Linked DNA regions of Homo sapiens: region 2 is linked to region 1. Evidence: promoter capture Hi-C in 16 types of primary human blood cells and fetal thymus (Javierre and others, 2016). All regions are on one chromosome and are shown on one strand. The core of a region is centred on a gene start or on the middle of the fragment in contact, and the rest is flanking DNA. Distances in the headings are between cores, read along the strand shown. Region 1 holds the start of STAMBPL1 (STAM binding protein like 1). Region 2 overlaps LIPA (lipase A, lysosomal acid type).

What was found. The method cuts DNA at HindIII sites, captures the fragments that hold promoters and counts their contacts. A CHiCAGO score of 5 or more calls a contact.
Region 2: a fragment that was not itself captured here is called in contact with the fragment with the promoter of STAMBPL1 in region 1 in 2 of 17 cell types (activated CD4 T cells and naive CD4 T cells); the score reaches 6.8 in activated CD4 T cells.

The regions. Positions count from the first base shown.
Region 1 is chr10:88,878,692-88,882,280 of GRCh38, reverse strand. STAMBPL1 (STAM binding protein like 1) reads right to left here and starts at 2,036. Exons shown (of 11, transcript NM_020799.4): 1 at 1,643-2,036. LOC124902551 reads left to right here and starts at 1,617. Exons shown (of 1, transcript XM_047426134.1): 1 at 1,617-2,547. The coding sequence starts at 1,859. The coding sequence ends at 2,386. RefSeq lists enhancers at 1-307, 1,328-1,437 and a silencer at 2,018-2,147. The HindIII fragment of the contact is 2,730 bases long and covers 1,094-3,589 here.
Region 2 is chr10:89,221,161-89,224,855 of GRCh38, reverse strand. It overlaps LIPA (lipase A, lysosomal acid type), which reads left to right. Exons shown (of 10, transcript NM_000235.4): 7 at 1,026-1,172; 8 at 2,274-2,345. Among named protein-coding and RNA genes, the nearest start is that of CH25H, 16 kb to the right of the region's middle. The HindIII fragment of the contact is 9,936 bases long and covers 1-3,695 here.

The sequences.
Region 1 (3,589 bases), core at 787-3,286:
TTCCTCACTACTCCCTCCAAGCCTCCCACAAACCGTAAGAATCCTATGAAACAGGGCAAGAGTACCAAGAAACAGGCCTTGAAGGTTGAGATAGAGGTAAAGGACTTAGGTTATCTGCCTTATAATTTAAATTTTGGTGCTTACTTTATAGGTGAGGATAAGAAAACAAGTTTCTTCTTGAAATTCCCAAGAACCAGTTGCTACATAAATTACAGCCAACGTATACGCAAAAGCAGATTCTTAGTGGCAATTTGCTGTATCTGTGTCTGAACAGAAAACAATCAGCCAATTCATTTTGCAGGTAGATTCCAATAACATTTTATGCCTTTGAATGGAGAAGCTCTCATGGTGCAAATGGTAAACAAAAAGAGCCTACTGCTCAGCGACACATTAACTTGTATTAAAAATAAAGATATGTATAGTGTAGCTACACAATGCCCACTACAATCCAGTGGCAGAGTATATTTTTGAAGTGCAATGTAGCATCCATCCTGAAAACACAAAATTTCCAATGGAAACAAGGTCGGGATAAAAACAAAACACGGTGGCTTAATTTCTGTGTAAAACAACCGTCAAAACCTACCCTCAAAAAAATTGACACGAACAATCAAACATTCAGGTATAATTTATCTGCTGGAACAAATCTACGTTATTGACCTTGACAGGGCCTTAAATCATGAGACCATAAACAAGCATCCTAGTGATATCTATTATGTCTTCGGAAATAGCTTAAAATCCAGGACTTCATGTTATTGTCAGTAATGAGCAAGATGTTTGGAAAGCAGTGTGCTCACTGGGGCTTACTTTGAAAGCTGTCTTTTTTACTTACTACCGAACACTGATTTCCAGGAAGCAAGCCACCCCACCCCACTTCCCAGGCACTTGATTTTTTTTTTCAAACCTCTAGATTGGGTTCCGTTTCCTGAATTACTTATTCCTTACATAAATTTTCTTTTAAACTTCAGCAATTATGGCACCTTAGGCTCTGGGGGTATCAGCAGCGTGGGTTGTTTTAGAGAAAGTTCTGAAAAAAATATGTTTTGGAGACATTCCATTTCTTTGTGCATCTCACTGGGGGCTTTCAGCGAAAGCTTTAAGTTATTCAGGTGAGGGGCAATGTCTTAGTCGCTCATAAAGGGCATAAAAGTAACATCATCTGGAAAGGCATGGCACCTGCTCGGCCGGGGTAAAGGTCCGTTTTTCTAACCCTCGCCCCTCCCTCCTCCACACCGCGCCGCTAGAGACAGTGCAGTGGTCTCTCCCAAGGTCGACATCATCTCCAAGGCTGCAACCCAGGGCTGAACCAAAAAAACAGGCGCACCCACGTATAGGTCACGGCCAGAGTCCCGCCCTGCCACCAGCAGCCAGGTCTTCCTGCCTCCCTATCAAGGTGAAACTAACCCAGAGGGCCCAGCGGAGGGGCGCATACAGGCGGCGCCGATGGAGGCGGCCGATTGCATGACTGGCAGGAAGGAAGCGATCAGCCGCCAAAGTGCATTTTTTCCTCCCCTAGAGCCAGCCCGGGACCGGACGCTGCCAGCGGAAGGGCCGGCGCGCGCCAGGCCACGAGGCAGACGCACCCGCCGTGCGCACTTCCCCGTCCGGTGCGCGCTCTCACTCACGCGCGCGCGCCGCTACTCACTAGCAACCCTTGGTGTCCGCAGCCCGTGTGGGACGGCGACTGCGACGGCTGCCCCCGTGGCTGCCGTGTGGCCTTGGCATCCGTCCGGCTGCTGCAACCCGGGCCGCGGTGGCTTTTGCTGGAAGGCGTTGCAGCGGGGTGATACCGGCACCCGGCGACGAGGCGTCCGCTCGTTTGCCTCGGCCGTGCCTCCTCCCCCTTCTCCTCTGCCGACAGATGGAGCTTTGCTGGTTCCAGTCGCGCGGGCTCCGTGCGTCGTTCTCCTCCTCGCTGTCGGACACCCCAGCGCAGGGGACGAACAGCGTCCTCGCAAGCCCACGCGCAGGCCGGCCGACCCCGAACCTGCAGCAACCGTCCCTGCTGCCGCTGCTGCAGGAAAATAAATTGTCACTGCGATGGTCCCGGCCTCCCCTGCCCCGGCCCCTGGGTGCCGCCTCCGCCTCTGCCTCCGCCCCCTCCTCTGTGGCGGCGGCGGCGGCTTCCCGCATTCTGCAGAAAAAGCTCGCAGGTGGAAGGAAGCAGGGCCCCTGCGGATGGCCTAGAGCCCGAGTGAAGCGGTTGGGTGCGACTTTCGCATCTGAAACCCTGCACGTCTTCTCCCCAGACCGGAACCACCTAAACTCCCTTTTGCTCCACCATCAATTTCACCGAGATGGACAGGAGTGGTGCCTTTTAAGACTGCACAGTACACAAGCCTTGATGCAGCTGACCGTTAAACTGTCACTGGAGTCTGGGGAAGGATAGGGTTTTGGTGAAAATCCCACTTATACTTCATGTTAGGATTCCCTTTTTGATATTTATCCACAACTGGCTACGCCCACTATTAAGCATCTTAGCCCTTCCCCCTACCCCCAATTTGTGTGTACTTGGAAAATAAGAAGTATTAGAATATCTCCTGGATGTTATGTTACTATCACGTGTGGTGTTCTTACTACAGTTCTGGCACTGTGTCAGGCAGTCGGTACACAAAATCTTAGTCCATCTGCCACAACCCTGTATATAAAAGGGACTCATTTTTTGTTTTTGTTTTTGTTTTTTCCATGAACGAGAGACAGAGAAGTAAAATAATTTATCCCAGGTTACTCACCTAGAAAGCAGTAGAAGCTGAAATTTAAACTCTGATCCAACACTGAAAGCTGTTTCTATTGGCTTCACAGGTTCTATTAACTGATAAACATTTTATGGAGACTGCTGCTGCTGGATGAAATAGAGTCGCTTTTCTTGAGCTTGGTTGGGAGCTTACTTCCAAGTGAGAGAAATGGCTGCAGAGTGGGGTGGGGAAACACTGGCTTTTCTTAGTTAGCCTTTCCTCTGGAAACCAAAATTCTAGCCCTGGCTCAGCCACCAACTGAGTTATTTGGTCTCAAGCATTTCACCTTCTTAAGCCTCATCTCCCTGGATTCTTTTTTTTTTTTTAAATGAAGAGTTTGATTGTTGGAGGCAGCCTGCAGCCTTGATTTTTAAGAAGCAACAGTGTTGTTTTGCTTAGTTTTAAGTTGGTTCCAAATGTTGAAGTTAGGAAATTTCACAGAAATTCAGACTTTTCACATTTTCTGTAAAATCGTAACATCAGACATTTGGTCCATGGCGAGTTCTAGCAACCATCAGCTGAAGCTGAATAGCAGGTGTCGCCTTTAGACTGTGAAGACACTCTTCAGTTTTCCACAGTCCCCACCACTCCCATACACCCCCACCTCACTGACATTTGAGAATATGGTAGGCATTTGAGTTTGCAGTATTGAACCAGATAATCTCATGACCTACTGGACAATTTAAAATTCAGTGGTAATTAAGAAGGTTAGCCAGATTCCTAAAAAGCATTATGAAACAAAAAATTCCACGTACGTATTTAGAGTGGTCATTGATCATGGTCTTGCTATCTAGCATCCAAATTCTCATAAAAGCCAAAATGGCCCAATACCCATCGTCCCCTGCTCCCCAGCGGCT
Region 2 (3,695 bases), core at 139-2,638, 340 kb before region 1:
CTCTGCCCACCTCACAGGGAGAGCAAGGAGAGTCTGGGAGAAAATAATTTAAGCATTTGTGGAGTTGCCCTTTATCCCATGAGGTGAGCCTGTGCACAGAGGATGTAGGAGATGGGAGATAGGAAATGTTCCCAAAAGCCCATCCCTAGCTACACTGAGGGTGACCTAACAACGCTATCATTATTGTATTTTATAATATGGCTCCTAAACACAGCCAGTAGCTTCATCAGGGCTCTGCCCTAAAGCTGTGGCACCCGAACCTCTGTTCAGGGAGGAAATAGATTTCATGAAAAAGAGTTTTAAGCTAGGTAAGACCAGATGTTCTATTATGCATGCATTATATGTCTTTTATGAAATATATGTTCACACACACACATATGAAATCCTGTATAGAAATATATACATGAAATGAGGTATAACGTCTCTCATGGGCCATTTAGAAGACTTAAATAGGAAAGATGGAATCTCCTAGGCTTAGGCAGTCCTTCTGCCTTGGCCTCTCAAAGTGCTGGGATTACAGGCATGAGCTACCATGCCTGGCCAATAAAAAAAATTTTAAAAAACAAAATAAAAAAGCAAGCGATGGGCTGGATTTGGCCTGCTGGCCAGTAGCATTGAATTAGATGGGCACACCTCTGGCAGACATTACTGATCAATCACAGCCTTGACTGTTTCTTAGAAGTAACCACCGATCCATCAGAGTCAGATGAAAATTACTTGGGGATGGCCCTGGGAGGGGTGATCATTAAGGCCCTTTCCCACTGTAGAAGTCCGCTGAAAACTTATTTGATTTTCTGCCTCCTTCTCTTCATTTGGAGAATTTAAATACACCTCTGTAGTGTGTGATTTTTGCTTTGGTAAACTTGTGCAAAAGCATCCTGATTTGATGTCCACTGGTTGCCATTCTCTCCTGAGGCCATTCGTGGAGACATTGGGTACTTGTCTCTGCTTCTGAGGTGAGTCACGGAGACTTATGCACCAGAGTGAAATGCTGAGATGTTCTTGGGTTTCTTTTTATTTTGTAGGACTTATTTGGAGACAAAGAATTTCTTCCCCAGAGTGCGTTTTTGAAGTGGCTGGGTACCCACGTTTGCACTCATGTCATACTGAAGGAGCTCTGTGGAAATCTCTGTTTTCTTCTGTGTGGATTTAATGAGAGAAATTTAAATATGGTATGCATGTTTATAGTAAGATTTGATTTTTTTTTTTATCTGTGAATGTGCTTATTTGTGTTGAATGATATGGGAGAGGTGGGAATGACCTCATCAGAACTCTAAAGAGTCTTTCATTTGAGAGGCACAAGCATGAACTTTGGCCAATGCCTAGAATACGGTACCACCTGCTGCCATCCTCAGGCTGACTGTGGTCACCTTCTTATGTTGTACCTAGATGGAGATTATTGAATGAGGAGATCTGTCACAAATTAAGCTGTAATATTTATAATTACTCTAGTGATTTGTTTCTTTTAGAAATCATTATAAGTATAAACATAAAGATGGGAACAATAGACAGTGGGGACTCCAAAAGGAAGGAGGGAGAGGGACAAGGGCTGAAGCCTGTTGAGTACTATAGCCAATATTGAGTACTGTGGTTATGGGATCAATAGAAGCCCGCATCTCAGCATCATGCAATCCACCCTTGTAACAAACCTGCACATGGACCCCCCGAATCTAAAATACACAAATTTTCAAAAATTACTATAAGTATTTAAATTTGGAACGGCCATTTACATACACATAAGTGTATGCTTGCAGTGTGTGTGTATTTATAAAAGTACATTTTATAAAATGTAAACCCATTTTATTTTATAAAATATAAACCCTTGGCCAATACTATGCCCGTGTTTCTAAATATGTTTGTTAGTTTGTCATGTGGCATTTTGAAAAAAAGGGTTAAAATCCTGGAATAAAGGCCCTAAGGAATTTCAGTGCCATTTTTCTTTTGTCTGATAATTAAAGCAAGGTGTGATTGTTATATGAAATTTGGGAAATTCAGGAAAGCATGAAGAACAAAATGAAAATGCCCTGTAAACGAAACCCACACAGTCCCGTGCTTACCATGTTGTTGCACCTCCTTCATATGGACTTTGTATGTGGTTGTATGTATTTTTATAGGGCAGATTTTTAGTCAAATAATTTTTTTCTACCTCTCATCTCACATACTTGAGATTATGGCTCTAGTTTTTAGTGCTTTGAAGGGCAAAATACAATGTTTATTATCAATGCCACCTTAATGCTGTTTTCATTCTTCATTTCAATGTATTTATTTTGCAGTCTAGAGTGGATGTATATACAACACATTCTCCTGCTGGAACTTCTGTGCAAAACATGTTACACTGGAGCCAGGTAGGCATTCCAGGAGTGCATTTGGGGTTCATGTAAAATCAACATCAGAAAGGTCTGGGCATGCAAACCCTTTCCAAATAGAAAGACAACCTGCTTACAAATCTGATCTGGTTTTCTTCCCCAGAGTCCTGGGTTTTTGTCATCGTGCTTGTGTTGCTTTTGATACCTGTGGTGGGGCACACTGTGTTATACGTGGGTTCACAAACAGCTACTGGGGTTGACATTTTTCTTTTCCCTCCTCTCCCTTCCTCAAGTCTCAGGTTAATATATTCTCTCCCTTTCCTTCTCCCCCAGCTTTCTTTTCCTCCTCCTGTTTCCTCCCCTCCATCTGCTTCTCATTGAGTCCTAGATTTTTTTTATTTCTGTGTTGCTTCATAAAGAGTGATTTTAAGTCCGTTTTGGAGATAGAAACCGCTGTTTCAACACTAACCCCTGATCACAATATGCTTGGAATAGCAGTGAATAAACTGGAGCTAAACCAATGATAGATGTGAATGGGGGCCCCTGACTTTTGAAATACAGTTTTGATTATTTTATCATGTAAATAAGTCATGTTCATTCTAGAAAATTTAGAAACTACATCTAGAAAAAAATTATCTTAAAATGAAAATAAAATCATTCTATAACCCTAGACAGAGAGGAAATGCATATCCATAGATATTGAATGTCTCTGCATTCTATTCTATACCTCTTTTCAAAAAGATGCTGTTAAAGACATGGATAGAAATAGTAGATGTAGAAATAGATTGATTTTTCTCCTGCTTACTGTTTTACAGCTTGCTTTTCTTTTTTCACCTGACAATATGTCAGGGACTTCTTTCTACCTCAGGACATAATTTTGTGCCATTTATTTTTCAGCTAACTTCATTTTTAATATGAAACAACTCACCATTTAAGCCCTAAACCAAGACACTGTAGGTGTCTTGAATAGTAATTTCCAAACACCTGGCAGTCACTGCTTGCATCAGAATCACCAAATTGCTTTAAAAAGTACACTATTTAATAAATCATTGCATTAAAAAAGTAATGAGAGTTGGAATTATAGTGGAATTCTTGGATTGGCTACCATCCAGGCTTATAAAACAAATACTCCTGTGTCCCAATCATTTGGACTAGAGAATCTGTACTTTTATTTTTTCGTTTTATTTTATTTTTTTGAGATGGACTCTCACTCTGTTGCCAGGCTGGAGTGTAGTGGTGCGATCTTGGCTCACTGCAACCTCCGCCTCCCAGCTTCATGTGATTCTCCTGCCTCAGCCTCCCGAGTCGTTTTATTATTTTAAAAAAAAATTTTTTATTGAGGTATAAGTGACATAGAATATTTAAAGTATACAATTTGATATATTTCAG